Linked DNA regions of Homo sapiens: regions 2, 3, 4, 5 and 6 are each linked to region 1. The links are contacts of gene promoters, found by promoter capture Hi-C in human tissues and cell types (Jung and others, 2019). All regions are on one chromosome and are shown on one strand. The core of a region is centred on a gene start or on the middle of the fragment in contact, and the rest is flanking DNA. Distances in the headings are between cores, read along the strand shown.

Region 1 (2,549 bases), core at 16-2,515:
TCAACGAGTGAAGGTTCCTGATTCTATTCCCTAACCCGTTTCTTCTAGTGGAAAAAGCTGTCTTCTTTTGGCAATTTTGGGGTGAGACTAATTTTGTTTACAACCCCAGCGCTGAAATGGGGTGGAATTTTACAGATGCCGTGTAGGCCCTCTGGCTTCAGGCGCTATGCTTCACCCTCCGGAGTTGGGCGACCGTCTTCTAGTTATCACCCCCCTAGCAACCAAAAGGTGTGTGGCCCAGGAAATAAACCCACTGGGAAAGGATGTTTTGTAGTATACAGAGTGCTTTCACATATTCCAAACATTGTGTATCAGGCACTGTGCTGGGTACTGCGGTTACAAATCAGTCACTATCACCCAGGATGTTAAGTCCTGCAGCGAACTAGTGTATTGTGCTTGACTTTGTTCCAAGCCTGGGCCTTGGCACCTTACAACTGAAAAGCTAAGTTGGTTCCTTTTAATTCATTTATGTTTCAGCTCCAGTGTCTGGCCTACGGGACCACCCACTCTAAAGCAGCCCCCGTCAATCCCAGAACCTGCCTTATGTTCGTTCTTCAGCAAGTGTGTTCAAGGCTTCACCTCCTGCACATAGTGGGGAGTGCTGGGAACACGGTCTCTAAGTGCTCCACAAAGGCTGAACCAGCGGTGAAAGGCCTGTAAGAAGAGCTAGGGAGCACGCAAAAGCCCCCAGCAGGGCTGTGAAGGCAGAGAAGGCACGAGGGCGTTCCAGGCACAGGGCCCAGCGTGAGCAACCGCTCCTAGAGTGAGGCTCCTGGGGTGAAAATGCCAGGGTGGTGACAGGTGGGGGCCGAACGCCGTCCCTAAGAAGCTCAGCCTGGGGACGCCCTGAGTCTTAACCCGGGCGGATACTGGCCTCCCCGGACAAGCAGCTACCCCGCCGCGGGGCGTCGGCCCCCTTCGGGCCTCAGTTTCCCCACGTCCCTCCCGACGCCTCACCTGGGGCGGGAGCAGGCGCGGCAGGCGCGGGGGCTCGGTGCCCCGGCCCCGCTGCAGGGCGGCCTGTTGGGCCGCGTCCCGCAGCCGCCGCGCCGCGTCCCGCAGCACGAAGGGGGGCGGCGGCGGCGGCGGCTGCGCCTTCGTCACCTGCTCCAGGACCTGCCGCAGCTGCTCGGGGCCCAGCGGGGCCACACGTGCGACGCTGCCGCTCTGGCCCGGAGGAGCCGGGCCGCCGCCGCCGCCGCCATCCTCGCTGCCGCCCCCAGCCTCCGGCTCCGCATCCGCCATGGCGGCCGAGGCGGGGACTCGAACCCGGGTCGCTGAGCGACGGCGTCTCCAATGTACGTCACCTAGGAGAGGGGCGGGCTACGAGTGCCTCGCAGGCCAAGACACCTAGGAAGGCGACCGTGTCTGGCCGGGAAAGTCGTGGAGTGCCCCGCCCCAGCCGACAACCGCCGCGGCTCTTAGGGCTGATCAGCAGAGCGGACCCCCCTTATTTTCCTTATTGCCTGTCACGGATGTGTTTAAGACTCACCTTCTCTGGGAGCTGTCCCGGATCTCCCAGGGGGAGGTCTTCGGGGTTTCAGAGCCCCTGGCCCAAAAGTTACCACAATATCCAAGTGTTCTGACGTCATCATGCATCCGAATCAGCGGAGGATGCTGTCTGGAGATGCAGAGTACTGTGCCCACCCCTAAACATTTGGATTTATACATCTGGGAGGGGACCACAGTTTGAATTGTTAACGAGAGTGTTTCCCAAATTTTTGCCTTGTCACCGTAGCTTCTCTCTACCCACCCACCCAGATTGGGTGCACCTTGAAGGGAGAGATGATATATTACACAATCGGTGCCCAGCACAGGCCCTGCCCAGAACACAACGCACGCTCAGGGCATGAATGATGGATGGATGAATATGAATAAACGAATGAGTGAACGAATGAATGAACCCACCCTCTCTCTATCCATCCAGCTCCACTGCCCCATCTTCCTCAGCCTGATCGCCTCTCCTTCTTACGGTTGAGGCTCTGTGCGCCCTCCGAATCTTGTAGCTGCAGGTGTGTACACATGTCCCAGCTCCTTTCCCCAGGGAGAGCAGGAGGTCCACTGGTCCACAAACCCTTCTTAAGCACCTGGTGGGTGAACCGCTGTTTCCGCCCTGGGGGGTATACAGTCTAGGTGCCGACCCCCAAGGAGGAAACTTCCCAAGGGGGAAGGAGGAAACTGGCATTTGCAGCACAGTATGATGAGCGCCGAAGCCGGTAAAGTAAGGCTGGCGGCCTGGGTGGCGTCAGAGAAGGTTCTGGAAGATCACCACCATCCTCATCAATACTCACATTGCATTCACGATGATCCCTTCCGTGTTATTTTTTAATGGTGAATTTTATATTATGGGTATCTTACCACAATTTTTTTTTTTTTTTGAGACAAGATCTCACTCTGTCACCCAGGCTGGAGTGCAGTGGCACAATCTCAGCTCACCGCAACCTCCATCGCCTGGGTTCATGCGGTTCTCCTGCCTCAGCCTCTTGAGTAGCTGGGATTACAGGCGTCCGCCACCATGCCTGGCTAATTTTTGTATTTTTAGTAGAGAC
Region 2 (2,549 bases), core at 25-2,524, 460 kb after region 1:
GCACTGCTTGGGACAGAGGCCTTGTACTGGTTGCTTAAATTCTTGACAAGAGGGTCACAAACCAAGGCCAGGCACCACCCCACCGCCTGTGTTCTTCCTTCTTTCACTATACTTCTCATCAATGCCCTCTAGCTACAGAACAAAACAACAAAACCAAAAATCCAATCTGTCCCCATCCCCTATTCTACCTCCAGATCCAGACAAACAAGGGGTAGGGAAAGGCTATGTTGCCTTCTGAACTTAGAGCAGAAAGGAAAGAAAATGTCCCCTGCTCTCACAGTGACCACAGACAGCATCTCATGTGTGCCCATCTTCACAGGACAGTCTAATTCATCACCCAGTTTCCACTCTGCGCCTTCTTCCCGCCCACGTGGGCATAAGGCAGAAATCACATTCCCAGTCTTGCAACCCTATCTATTTCATCTGGATTACTTTTATTCACGGCATCACCGTAATCTAAAATGAAAATTATTGGTTGGCTTATTTTATGGTTGTCTCCCACGTGAAAATGAAAGCTTTAGGTGAAAATGAAAGCTTTAGGAGGGCAGAAGTCTTGTTCGCCATTCTATTTCCTCACCCCAAAACGTGCCTGGCCCATGATGGATGCTCAGTGTCTGCTTACTGCTTAGGGAGCCCAGGGGCTGGCAACGCTCTGGAGCCCAGCGCGAGGTTTGGGTGGGAAACAAGTTAATACAGCAGGAGGAGAATCAAGTTAGGAAACAATTATGACAGGGAGAGGAGAGGCAATGATGACTTAATCTATAAAAACAGCCTCAAGGGCTTTTAAGTATCCTAAGTGGTGCCAGTAACCCACACTGCTACTGTGAAATACAAACGAGAGGCGGTTTCAAGCAGTCGGGAGCACACTCGGTTCAAGGGCGGGCATTTGACCTGAACCAGGCCAGCGGGAGTCTTGTCATTCTTTGTAGATTCTTCCCTCTTAGGTTAAAGAGTGGGAATCAGAGACTTTCTTAAACATAGGAAAATCTTCCACACGTGTAAACTTAATATAGAATTTATATACTTATAAATCTAACATACAGTAAAATAAAATGAACACATAATAAGGAAGCATTAAGCAATAGGGGGAAATGAAATAGTCAATACATGATGTAGGGAGAAATAATTTTTCAATAATTTTAGAAGAAAATAAATTTAAAAGAAAATGAAGTTCTATCCCTAACCCACATCATAAAAAAAAACAAAAAACAAAAAACAAACAAACAAAAAAACTGGAATGCTCCTAACACAAAGAAATGATAAACGCTTGAGGTGATGGAAACCCCAATTACCCTGATTTGATCATTACGGATTCTATGCTTCTACCTAAATATCACATATACTCCATAAATATGTACAACTATTACATATCCATACCTAAAAGAAAAAAGATTATAAAATGTGATGCGCAAAACAAAATTATGAAAGTAATAGGAGAAAATATTAGAGATTTTTATGATTCTGGGGCTAGAGTGGGCCTCCAAAGTAATTGAGAGTTAAAATTAATGAAAGAAAAAAGCTATTCCCCAAGTGTCATTAGTCTGAACAGGTAAGGTTTTAGGGTATATATTCTCTGCTCAGTTTATGCCTATTACTCTTCTTCAGGCACAAGTCTGGGACAGGAACCCGCATGGCCTTTGTAGTCCTTAGGCCGACTACATGGTAGCCATGCCAGTGAATTCTGAACTTTAAGAGTTAAAAACAACAAGTTAAAACAATCAAGTTGATCTCAACCTCTGACACAGTAGACTGAACTACAACGAAGAACATTACTTTCATCTTTTTCCAAAGCAAACATACTAAAGAAGGAAATAAAAGTATTTTAGGTCAAGAAGTCCAGTCAATTCTGAAATATATAGCTTTGGAAAAAAAAATCAGTAACTTAACAAAGAGTTCAATGAAAATTGGACTTAACATTTTACACTAAGCCACACTGACTCCCCAGTAAGTGTGTGTGTGGGGGGTACTAGTTTCAAAGGCAGATAAAATATCAACAATTCAAGAAAAATCAACAGAAAACTGGATTTCAGCGTCAAACAATGAATTTTGGTAATGGCACTGAATGAAGTGTTTCCAGGTGGTACTGACTGAGGAATGGGCTGTAAAGTTTGACACTTCAGAGGACTGAGATCTGGGGGCTGAATAAAACCAACAGTGAACTAACTGCAGGATGATAAGACTATTTCAGCCAGTCAGGACATACTGTCATTGATAGAGGAATGACAGAGGAAGCACTGACAGAGGAAGGCCTTCTCAGCCAATCAGCATGGGCTGTCCTGATCCTAGCACTGACAGGTGGCGGCCTTCTCAGCCAATCAGCATGGGCTGTCCTGATCCCAGCACTGACAGGTGGAGGCCTTCTCAGCCAATCAGCATGAACTATTCTGACACCAGCTTGGTTCTGTCAATATTTCAACTCCATCCCATCATTAGAATTTTCCTGCACATGGATGGACAAAATGTTTACTTCTGAACTATAAAAAGGCACTAGTATATTAATGTTAAATATGTTTTAAAAAAATTTAAAGAAGATAAAATAATAAATAGAA
Region 3 (2,549 bases), core at 25-2,524, 460 kb before region 1:
AAAAAATAAATAATGGCTCCTCTTCAGTTGTATGCCGTGAATGTAAATTAAGAAGCCGCTACAACGCTCGACATAACCTTTCTGACGCCACAAAAATGAATGAATTATATCCATACACACACACAGGCACACACACCACGCACCACGCATCACATGTCATTCTGAAAACTGATTCTGAGCTTAATTCGAAAAACGTGAAATACAACTGGTCCCGTCAACAGCTCGTAATCTGAAGGTTTCTTGCATTTCCAAGCACGTCCATAACACCTCATCCGTTTCCAGTTTGTTACTGTTTCCAACCGAAGGGAGAGAATTTTCCACACAGAATTATCTCCTCGGGTCCAAATACTAGACCGAAGTCCCCACACGGGGCTGGCTGGCGGCGTGGAACCGGCCAGCCCGCCGAGAGCCGCCTGGCGCCCGCGGGGAAGACGCAGAGCCCGCGGCCAGGAGCCGCCCGGTGCCCCGGGAGTCGCCGGCCCTCGGCGGCCGCGCGAGGGGGATTCGCGCCCTCTGCCCATACCCGGACCCCCGCGCCGCCCGCCAAGCGGTCGGAGGCGCCTCTGAGGCGGAATGACTCAGGACCAACTTTCCAATAACGCCCGGGCCCCCCCGGCCGGCCCGGGCAGCGCGCTCGGCCACGCAGCCCCTGAGCCGCCCGTCCCCCCGCGTGAAACCCGCGGCCCCGCGGGGTGCCGGGTCCTCAACGCCAGCGGGGGTCACGGCCGTAGCGAGGCCTGCGCGCCCCGTTTCCTGAAAAGGTGCGGGCGCCCCGGCCCCCTCGGGCCCCGAGCCCGGCCTCCGGGACAAAGTTTGCCGAAGTTGAGGCGTCCGGAGGCGGGAGGCAGCCCGGCTGGGGCGCGGGGCCAGGCTGAAGCCGCGCCCCGCCGTCGCCGCTGGGACGGGCCGGGCCTGCGCCGCGCCGGGCCCGCGCCGGGCAGCCCCGAGGCCCCCGGGCCCCGCCGCCCAGGGCGCGGGATGGAGGCGACGGGGATGGAGGCGCCCGGCCGCGCGCCGGAGGCCCGCCCGCCCGCCGCGGCCCCTTACCTCGCGGTCCGTCGCCGCTCGGCCGGCTCAGGGGCGCCGGGCGCGTCCTCCGCCGCGGTCCGCAGCGTTCTGCTCCCCGGGCTGCCCCATGGCGGGGGGCGGGGAAGAGCCGGCGGCCGCCGCGGCTGCCGCCGGCTGGAAAGTCCCGGCTGGGCTGCAACCCCGGCTCGCGCACGCGGCGGCCGCGCCGCGCTCCCTCGCTCCCTCGCTCCCTCACGCAGCCCCGCGCAGGCACTTCCTCTCGCGCGCTGGAAATCCCCGGCGCGCCCGCCGCCCCGCCCCCGCCGCCCGCGCGCGTGGGAGCGGCAGGAGCCCGCGAGCGCCGCCGGCCCCACGCGCCCGCCGGCCCCCCGCGCGCGCCCGCGACCCGTTGCTAAGGGCCCTAGCGCCCGGCGGCCGCCCGCCCGGCCTTAGCAACGGCGGCGCCGCGGCGCGGGGCGGGGACGGCCCCGGGCGCCCCCCGCCTCCCTCCCGTCCCCGCCGCGCGCCCCGCGGGCCTCCTCGCTCTGCGCCGCCCCCGCCGCGCCCCCGCCGCCGCGCGTCCCCGCGTCCCCGCCTTTCCGGGTCAAAAAGCCACGCAGGCCGCGTGGGGGCCGAGAGGTGCTGGCGCCGCTCCTCCCCGCGGCCACCTCGCCCGCACCCCCCACGCCAGCATAGCATACGCAGCCCCCGTGCGTGCACGCCCGTGTGCCCATGGCCACACGCGACCCCTACGCACACGCACGGGTCCGATATGCGGCCCCCCGCACTGTCGCGGACGCATACACGACGGTCACATTCCCCTCAAGCGGACACGCACACACACGCTCACCAACACCGTGCGCACGCGTACCAGGCCACGCACCCTCGCGCACACGCAGGTGGGGCTGAGGGTGACTCAGGCCGTGGAGCCCCTTTTCGCATGCAGAGGGCAGGGCTCCACATTAGTTTGGTGGCACTTTCCTTTCTCCCTCCCTTGGACCCTCCCACGCCCCCGGAGTGGTGTCTTGCTCACGGGTGGACAGGGTAGCCAGTTTGCCACGTGCCCCCAGCGTCCTCGGCGGTCCTGGCTGCCCCTGCGCCCCCTGCACCCTCCACCAGGCCGCTGGGGCCTGCGCATTTCTCCCGAGGCCTCTGCCTTCTGCCCCAAAGGCATCAGTGGTGTGTCAGTGATTCACCTAGGCCCACCAAGGCAGCACCCAGCCTGGCTGGGCCTGGCGAGGTGGGAAGCGAAGGGAGGGCTTCTGGGAGGCTCTGGGCCAGCTGAGGGGTGAGGCCTTCGCTGGAGTTTGCAAGTCAGTGGTGAGGGGACAGAAAGGACTTTGCATTTTTCACTTCTCAAGAAGGCTTATAAAGAGCCCTACCCCAGAGCTGAGACCAGTGTGAGTAGCCAAGGCCAGTCTGCCTTCTTGTATTGCTCCAGTGACTCATGTGAGTGGAGGCAGGAAGTCCAGCATCTCCTCCTACAGCTTCACCCATGGAACGTTCCAGAACCCCAGATAGTCCGACCTGGCTGCTGGAAG
Region 4 (2,549 bases), core at 26-2,525, 440 kb after region 1:
AAGAAGTTAACCAACTTGCCTAAGATGTTATTTAGGCACAGGAAAGTGTGATTTCACCCATCGTGGTTAAAGGCGATAACTGAAAAAAAGTAAAATGTCCCCGACTGTGCCAGCTGGCCGTATGTGTCAACCCGGCTAGGCCACAGTGCCCAGCTGTCCAAACACTGCTGTGGGTGTTCCTGTGAAGGCATTTTATAGATGTGGTTAACACCTATAATCAATGGACTTCAAGTAGCGATCACTCTTGAGAATGTGGGGGCTTCAACCAGTCAGCTGAGAGGCCTGTGAGACCCAAACTGCAGCTTCTCTGAGGAGAGTCCACCTGCGGCCTGCAGTGTCCACCACGGCCAAGTCTCGTGCCCGCTGCCTGTCCACGGAGTCCAGACCTGCCCGCTGGACTCACCCACTGCAGAAGGCAAGTCCTTGAGATCTCAATCTCTGTCTCTCCTGCTGTTTCTCTGCACAGCCCTGACTGAGGCACCCAGTCAGCTGAGATTCCTAAGTAAACTGGTGGTTTCTACTAGCAGGAAAGCTAGTGATTAGGGTTTCCAGTTGAAGCTCTCCCGCACAGTGACAGTCAGCCCAGCAGCTAGGCCCCGTCTCAAACACCTGCACACTCACTGAATCCTTGATGCTGAGCTGAGGGCCTGCAAGGTGACTCAGATGGCTTGCTCTGAACACAATGTCCTCTTTTCAGTGTCTGTCATGGACTCAATGCTTGTGGCCTCCCTTCCTCACATTCATGTTAAAGACCTAAACCCTGGTGTGGCTGGATTTGGAGATGGGTCCTCAGAGAAAATAATGAAGGGTGAATGAAGTCATAAGTGGGGCCTTGGCCCTCCAGGATTAGTGTCTTTGTAAGGAGGGATGGTAGAAGGCTCACACTCGCCTTCTCTGCACTTGCTCGGAGCAAAGGCCATGGGAGGGCACAGTGGCCGTCTGCAAGCCAGAAAAGGCCCTCAGCAGGGAACAAACCCTGCTACACCCTTGAGTTTAGACTTTCCAGCCTCTAGAATGGAGAGAAGACACATTTCTGTGGTTTAAGCCACCAGCCTGTGGTATTTTCTTACGGCAGCCTGAGCAGACTGATACAGCGTCCTTGACTGATGACCGACCTAGGTCCGGGAAGGTTCATTCCAGGCCAATTCTGATTGATTGAAAGTCATTTCTCATGTGTAAGGAAAAAAACTTGCACTCCTAACTTCTACACACCTTTCTTACCACATTACATTGCATTAATTTAGTGCATATCTCTAGAAAAGGTTAAGTAAAAAGTAATACTGGGGCGGGGGGAAGGAACAGAGGGCCAACGGTCTATCACCTCAAATTCTTCTTGGGTTTCTGACCTAGCAACATTTCTTAACACAAAAGCTGCAGGGGCGAATCAGGGGCAGGAGCCCCAGGTACAGAAACCTGGGGTGCTGATGTCTGTGTGCAAATGTCACTGCCATGCTACCTGGATGCATGGATCCGGTCTGAGGAAACAGAGAAGACATCAACGTTATGCAGTGAACACCAAAGAAGCTCTGAGGTCTAAGGAGTCCCGGGTCTTCTGGGCAGCACACAGGGTCACTGTGATCTCTCAAATGAGACCTACGGATCCAGCGCACACCCAGAGGCACAGACGCAGAATCACGCTGCCCAACAAAGGCAGCACAGCCTCATGGAAACAGTCTCTCTACACCCTCTTCCCACCTAGAAGAAGGACCTCAGACCAAACAGCCTGCCTGAGCCTCAATTTTCTCCTCCATTGGAAAGGGTAAAGGCCAGGCGCGGTGACTCATGCCTGTAATCCCAGCACTTTGGGAGGCCGAGGCGGGTGGATCACTTGAGGTCAAGAGTTCAAGAGCAGCCTAGCCAACATGGTGAAACCCCATCTCCACTAAAAATACAAAACTTAGCTGGGTGTGGTGGTGGGTGCCTGTAATCCCAGCTACTCGGGAGGCTGAGGCAGGAGAATCACTTGAATCTGGGAGGTGGAAGTTGCAGTGAACCGAGATTGCACCACTGCACTCCAGCCTGGGCAATAGAGTGAGACTCCATCTCAAAAAAAAAAAAAAAAAAAAAAAAAAGCGTAAATCCTTTTTTTATTTTTTGCATTGGGCTGTGGTGAGAATCACAGAAAACACATGCAACAGCACTTACTAAATGGGAAAACATTATGCACGAACAGTTAGCATTACACAGCACTTCCCAAACGTTTCTGACTGTTTGACCTCCACATGAAAATAATGGCACGCACGTGAGTGCATACGTATGTCTGCATGTGATTCACACGGCCCCATCTGTGCCAGGACCGTCTCTGGTTAATATCAGGAAGCACCTGCTTCTGCTGCCTCCCTGACACTTCCACTTTCAGTACTTACATCAGTCCTGCAGATGTTCTCCAAATTGCTAAATTTATTAAATTAGATGTAAACTAGAATGGCCCAAGAAGCAACTTTACGGAAAATTCTTACAATTCAGCAATATCATGCAGCCTTTCTGTATGTGTTATCATTCATTACCAATGAGTGAATATTTATGCCGTAACATAACTGCAGCAGTGT
Region 5 (2,549 bases), core at 30-2,529, 400 kb after region 1:
TACTCCACAGGCGGGGCGCCTACTTTCACTTCTTACCTCAGAATTTTAGAAGGGGATGTCTTTTGGAATTCTTTCGCTGGTCAAAAAGAGGTTAAAGTTTCTCAGTGAGAAAGGCCAATGTCCCCAGGCCATTTGGGACTACTGTTTTAGTTTACAGGCATTTGAAACAGGGAGGGACGCTCAGGGAAACACGGCAGCTGAAACGCTCCTTGAACCCAGGCAGGAACTGAGTCAGTTGTCCTAAGTGTCTACAGGCCCAGCTGAGGAGTAACAGTGGTCGGAGGCTCTCTTTGGAGGTGGCCTGTGACCAAAGCACTGAAAGACAGTGCCCGGGAGGGGGCGAGGGGGGCGAGGGGGGTCAGGGGGGAGAGGGGGAGGGGTGGGGGGGCGAGAGGAGTGAGGGGGATGAGGGGGGCAAGGGGAGAAGGCTGAGGGGTGGGGGGAGGGGTGGGGGGGCGAGAGGAGCGAGGGGGATGAGGGGGGCGAGGGGAGAAGGCTGAGGGGTGGGGGGAGGGGTGGGGGGCCAGAGGAGCGAGGGGGATGAAGGGGGTGAGGGGGGAAGGGGACGGGGCGAGGGGGGTGAGGGGGCAAGGGGGGAGGGGCAAGGGGGTGAGGGGACAGGGGGAGGGGCAAGGAGGGTGAGGTGTCCTAGGGAGAGGGGTTGTTAGCACCCGCTGTGAAGAGCTAAGGGAGCCTCTCTGGGTCGAAGCAGAAGCCAGAGGGCTGTGAAGAAAACAGCGAGGGGTGGATATGGCTGTGAAGCTTTCGATTTTGCTGGAGTGAACATTTAAAGAACAGTTAAGAGTTGGGATTACTACTGCTGTTAGTAAATGGAGATACACATCTCAGGCACATACTTAATCCTTAAAAACTGTTTCTAGTAATTTGATCACTAAGATCTATCGATACAATGTTTCCTATAAGACTAGCAAAATTTAAGTTTTAATTTCAGCTTAAACAGAAGGCACTGATGCAAATCACATCGCCTACAAAAATGTGCATTTCTTAAGCAAATCAGTCATGGGTGCCCAGCTGAGCTCGGTGCACTTTTACCTGATGAGCCTCGTCCTTCACTGTCTTTCTCAGCATCTGCACATCTTCAAATAAAGGCCCATCTGTCTCCATTGCAACCGGAATGCTCATGGTGCTGGCTTGACTATACACTGTGTACTGCAATGCAAAGCGTGGAGTCGCTCTGTTAGGTGCCCAGGCTCTGAACTCCAAGCTTCTCATCCTGGCTAGGGACTCATCTCCCCTGCCGCCCCCCAGGGCCCTCTCCCGCAGGAAGCCCACTCAGTGGGAGACTCGCCTACACCTGCAACATGATGCGGCTGCTGACTTCTGAAACCAGAAAGCACTCAGTGGAGACAGTAAAGCAGCTGGTCCCCTCCTGACCCCTCTGCATCTGATGGACAGTGGCCCGCCCATACCCTGGCCCACACCCCATGGCCTCTGCAGTTCTGACTCCACGTGAGCAGCCAAGTGCGAGGTCGCACCCTGGGCTCGGTGGTGGGAGCTGTCTCACCACTGGAACCCTCACCTCTGGCCGCCCATTCTTTGCCAGCGACCTCCAACCTCATGATTCTTTTCCCTTTCCTCTCACGATCATGTCCTCTCATCGAGACAGCTGGCACGGTTCTCTCTCCCCTTTATCCCATTTTCCCGGCTTGCTTATGAAACCCTCTCATCACATCCCGGGTGACTTGCTCTCCACCAAAACAAACGCAGCCTGGGTGAGCCTGACGCTCCCTCTCCATTCCCTACGGGCGGCCCTGGGACTTCTCCACTCTCCCTGTGCTCTGGATTGAAACACAGATGGCTCAGCCCTCAGTCACTGGGCCTGGTTGACTCCATTTCCATGAGTGTAGTGCGGGGGTAAGGTCACCCCGGAGGGTGGCTGTGAGGGTTCCATGAGACAGGGTGCACAGGACAGTATGACTGTGACGAGCGTCTGCTGGCTCTGAGGGCACAGGCGAAGGAAGTGGCATCTGTGTCTGCTGTGAGCTGGGAACTGTGTGGGGCGCCTGTTTGTCCTGCGTGGTCGTGTGTGTGTACTGCCACCCTCACCTGGCTGATGGGGGAACTGGGACATGGAGGGGCTGGGGAACTTGCTCAGGGCCTCTGAGTTCAGGAGAGGGGAGCGGGGGTTCCTGCCCAGGCTGCTCTCATCCACACCCCTCCATTCTCTGCCCAGTGAGTCCCACAGCTTCGGCCTCTTTCAGGCTGAGCTCCTGTCACAGCAGCGCCCTCCTGCTGACCTGCTTCACCCCTGCCTCTCACCCCCTGCCCCCTCACCCCTGCCCCTCACACCCTGCCAGCCCAGAGCAGCTCCGTTCTCAGCCACCGTCTGGTGTTGGCCCTCATCCTCTGACGGAGCCACCTCTGGCATGAGGCCTATGGGTGCCCTCTGGCTGCTAAGCCCTTCCCGGCCTTGCCTCACTGGGCCTCTCTGAGGAATGATGACCATGGACGCCATCATTCAGCCCTGAACCTGCACCCTCCCTCGGTCTCTGTGACCCCAGCCTCTCCTCCAGGTGCCTTGGGCTCCT
Region 6 (2,549 bases), core at 21-2,520, 290 kb after region 1:
CATGTAATCAGGCACGATGTAATTTGGCTTCTCCAGATCCATCTTACTTGTGAATTCTTTGCCAACCTGATACAGTGCTTCGGTGGACCAGTCTCCAAACCAATTCAACACACACCTGAGAAAGAGGCCCATGTTTCAGGACAGCTATGAGGGGCAGGCTTTGTCCCTTGGAAGGACACCGACTTTCCTGACCCAGAGCCAAGTAAAGGCCCACGTACCTGTTGAAAAGTGCTGGTGATGTAGCTGCCCGGTCCTTGAGTCCCTCCGAGGACGGGTTCATGGTGAACACGACGTGGAGGTTGCGGATAACCTGGCTAGTGAACCACTTGTAGAGCTCCTCGTGCGAGTCCAGCATCAGGCCTTCCTTCTGTGCCCCCTCTTTGCACTGCGTCATCAAGGTGGCATACTCGTCTCCTTCAAAGAGACCAGGCACCTGGGAAACAGCACAGTGCTGACTTACTGGTCCCCCGGTAACACGTAATGCAACGCAACACGTCACCTAATTACCTCTCCATTGGCCAGAAGGGTATTCATTCGCTCCAGGAATCCAGAATCTAACACATTAGATTCATCCATTATAAATGCTATCTTTTCATTTTTACAGCCAGAACGTCTCAACACTGTCCGTAGATCTTCATCAAAGTCTTCCCCTGTGTACTTCCTATGGACCTACAGAAGCAGAGGCAAGTTAGGTCCATTCCTACTCACTGAGCTCTGCACACACATCTGTTGCTGGGATTAAGAGGCCACCGACCAGACGCACCTTAATCTGGTACACACTCAAACCGTTCATCCAGGCGACGAAACGAGACAGGGTAGTTTTTCCTGCTCCACTAACACCAATCAGAAGCAAGTGGCCTTGAGGTTGACGGAATATTCTGAAACATTACGAGAACTGATCAATGTTAAGGCTTATAATGCCTCATTCCCCTTTTGACTCATATCTAGTGTCTACAGTATTTTGGACATGTTTTAACTTGAACTTGTATATTAAACATTTGCTGAGCAACTGTTATTTGTGAAGTCCAGGAGGAATGCAAAGACCAGTAAGACACGGTCCTGTCCTCTAGACTGACATGAGAGACTAATGCAATTCCAGCAGAAGGTCAAAGGGCCATAATTATGGCAGGTATGCAGTGCTGGGGGAGGAAGAATGAAGTTCTGCTTAGGATAAACTGAGGATGGTTAAGCTGGACTTAGAAAGAAGAGAAGGGGGAAGCTGCTTGGTGGAGAAGGCTGAGGTGGAGGTGGTAGGACAGCATGAGGCCTGGTGTGACCCGGCACACACACTTACTCAAGAGCAGCTTAGGCGAGAGGTGGGGCTGTAACAACAAAAAAGCCCACCTGTCAATCCTCAGCACGTGGTCTAGGACTTCATTAAACAGCACCAGCGGAACATCAAGTTCTTCTTCATAAAAGACCTTCAGCCTAGCTTTGACATAATCTCTTAACTCTTCTTGGTCTACTGGGATGTAATCCTATAGAAAAAAAGGTAATACCCAAATTACTTAGAAAAAAATGTTAGTTATTAGACCAAAGTCAACTGTATGTCCACATACCATGAAGAAACTGTTAAAAATGCAACAAAAAAGGTATCATTTATAACATAGCAAAAAAATATAAATTCACTAGGAATGGATCTAAAAACATGAAAAACTTTTATAGAGAAAACTGAACTTCACCAAAAGGCAATGAAGAGGACCTCAATACATGAAGAGACATACCATGATCATGGAGGAAAAAAACACTCTACTATAAAAATGCCAGTTCCATCAAACTCATCCATAAGTTCAATGTAATCCCAGTCAAAATCTCAGTGGTGGGAGGTGCTTATTGTCCTGGTGCAACCTGACAAGCCATTTCTGTATTTCATTTGGAACAGGAAAGATCCCTCCAGAAAAGAACCAGGTGTGAGGGCCTGCCCTATTTTTTTTTTTTTTTTTGTAGCCTCGCTCTGTCACCAGGCTGGAGTGCTGTGGCACGATCTCAGCTCACTGCAACCTCCGCCTCCTGGGTTCAAGCAATTCTCCTGCCTCAGCCTCCCAAGTAGCTGGGACTACAGGCACGTACCACCATGCCCAGGTAATTTTTGTATTTTTAGTACAGACGGGTTTCACCACGTTGGCCAGGATGGTCTTGATCTCTTGACCTTGTGATCTGCCGGTCTCGGCCTCCCAAAGTGCTGGGATTACAGGCGTGAGCCACCGCACCTGGCCTGGGCCTGCCCTATTAAACAGACTTATTACCATAATCAGGACCATGTGGTTTTAGCACAGAGAACAACTAACGGATACCTATGCACACAGGGAAACTATGATGACAGACAGATACTGCAGAGTAAATTATTATTTAATAAACTTTGCTGGGATAATGGGTGTCCATAAGGAAAGAACTGAAAACGGACCCACTGCTCACTCAATACACAAACTCAATTAGAAATGTGATTAAGAGTTTCAAAGATACATCTTTTTTTTTTTTTTTTTTTTCCTTGAGACAGGGTCTCACTCTGTCACCCAGGCTAGAGTGCAGTGGCCTGATCTCAGCTCACT

The links. The method cuts DNA at HindIII sites, captures the fragments that hold promoters and counts their contacts. A contact is called where the count stands out against the background at its distance.
Region 2: a fragment that was not itself captured here is called in contact with the fragment with the promoter of ZNF839 in region 1 in 1 of the 25 tissues and cell types used here (lymphoblastoid cells).
Region 3: the fragment with the promoter of TRAF3 here is called in contact with the fragment with the promoter of ZNF839 in region 1 in 1 of the 25 tissues and cell types used here (thymus).
Region 4: a contact is called between a fragment that was not itself captured here and the fragment with the promoter of ZNF839 in region 1, in 2 of the 25 tissues and cell types used here (lymphoblastoid cells and mesendoderm cells).
Region 5: a fragment that was not itself captured here is called in contact with the fragment with the promoter of ZNF839 in region 1 in 1 of the 25 tissues and cell types used here (adrenal gland).
Region 6: a fragment that was not itself captured here is called in contact with the fragment with the promoter of ZNF839 in region 1 in 2 of the 25 tissues and cell types used here (H1 embryonic stem cells and IMR-90 fibroblasts).

Annotation. Positions count from the first base shown.
Region 1 is chr14:102,318,462-102,321,010 of GRCh38, reverse strand. ZNF839 (zinc finger protein 839) reads right to left here and starts at 1,265. Exons shown (of 8, transcript NM_018335.6): 1 at 958-1,265. The coding sequence starts at 1,245. RefSeq lists an enhancer at 646-755 and silencers at 856-1,045, 1,106-1,205. The HindIII fragment of the contact is 9,233 bases long and covers 1-2,549 here.
Region 2 is chr14:101,857,169-101,859,717 of GRCh38, reverse strand. The region is part of intron 4 of PPP2R5C (protein phosphatase 2 regulatory subunit B'gamma); the gene reads right to left. Among named protein-coding and RNA genes, the nearest start is that of PPP2R5C, 97 kb to the right of the region's middle. The HindIII fragment of the contact is 3,562 bases long and covers 1-2,549 here.
Region 3 is chr14:102,776,174-102,778,722 of GRCh38, reverse strand. TRAF3 (TNF receptor associated factor 3) reads right to left here and starts at 1,274. Exons shown (of 12, transcript NM_145725.3): 1 at 1,048-1,274. RefSeq lists silencers at 432-491, 732-781, 992-1,601, 1,692-1,751 and an enhancer at 2,462-2,549. The HindIII fragment of the contact is 12,756 bases long and covers 1-2,549 here.
Region 4 is chr14:101,876,464-101,879,012 of GRCh38, reverse strand. The region is part of intron 4 of PPP2R5C (protein phosphatase 2 regulatory subunit B'gamma); the gene reads right to left. Among named protein-coding and RNA genes, the nearest start is that of DYNC1H1, 87 kb to the left of the region's middle. RefSeq lists enhancers at 155-304, 2,523-2,549. The HindIII fragment of the contact is 7,006 bases long and covers 1-2,549 here.
Region 5 is chr14:101,916,452-101,919,000 of GRCh38, reverse strand. It overlaps PPP2R5C (protein phosphatase 2 regulatory subunit B'gamma), which reads right to left. Exons shown (of 16, transcript NM_001352913.2): 15 at 1,054-1,170. Among named protein-coding and RNA genes, the nearest start is that of DYNC1H1, 47 kb to the left of the region's middle. RefSeq lists an enhancer at 1,176-1,831. The HindIII fragment of the contact is 4,410 bases long and covers 1-2,549 here.
Region 6 is chr14:102,025,503-102,028,051 of GRCh38, reverse strand. It overlaps DYNC1H1 (dynein cytoplasmic 1 heavy chain 1), which reads right to left. Exons shown (of 78, transcript NM_001376.5): 44 at 1,345-1,478; 45 at 764-878; 46 at 508-669; 47 at 219-433; 48 at 1-115. Among named protein-coding and RNA genes, the nearest start is that of HSP90AA1, 60 kb to the left of the region's middle. RefSeq lists an enhancer at 1-730. The HindIII fragment of the contact is 7,400 bases long and covers 1-2,549 here.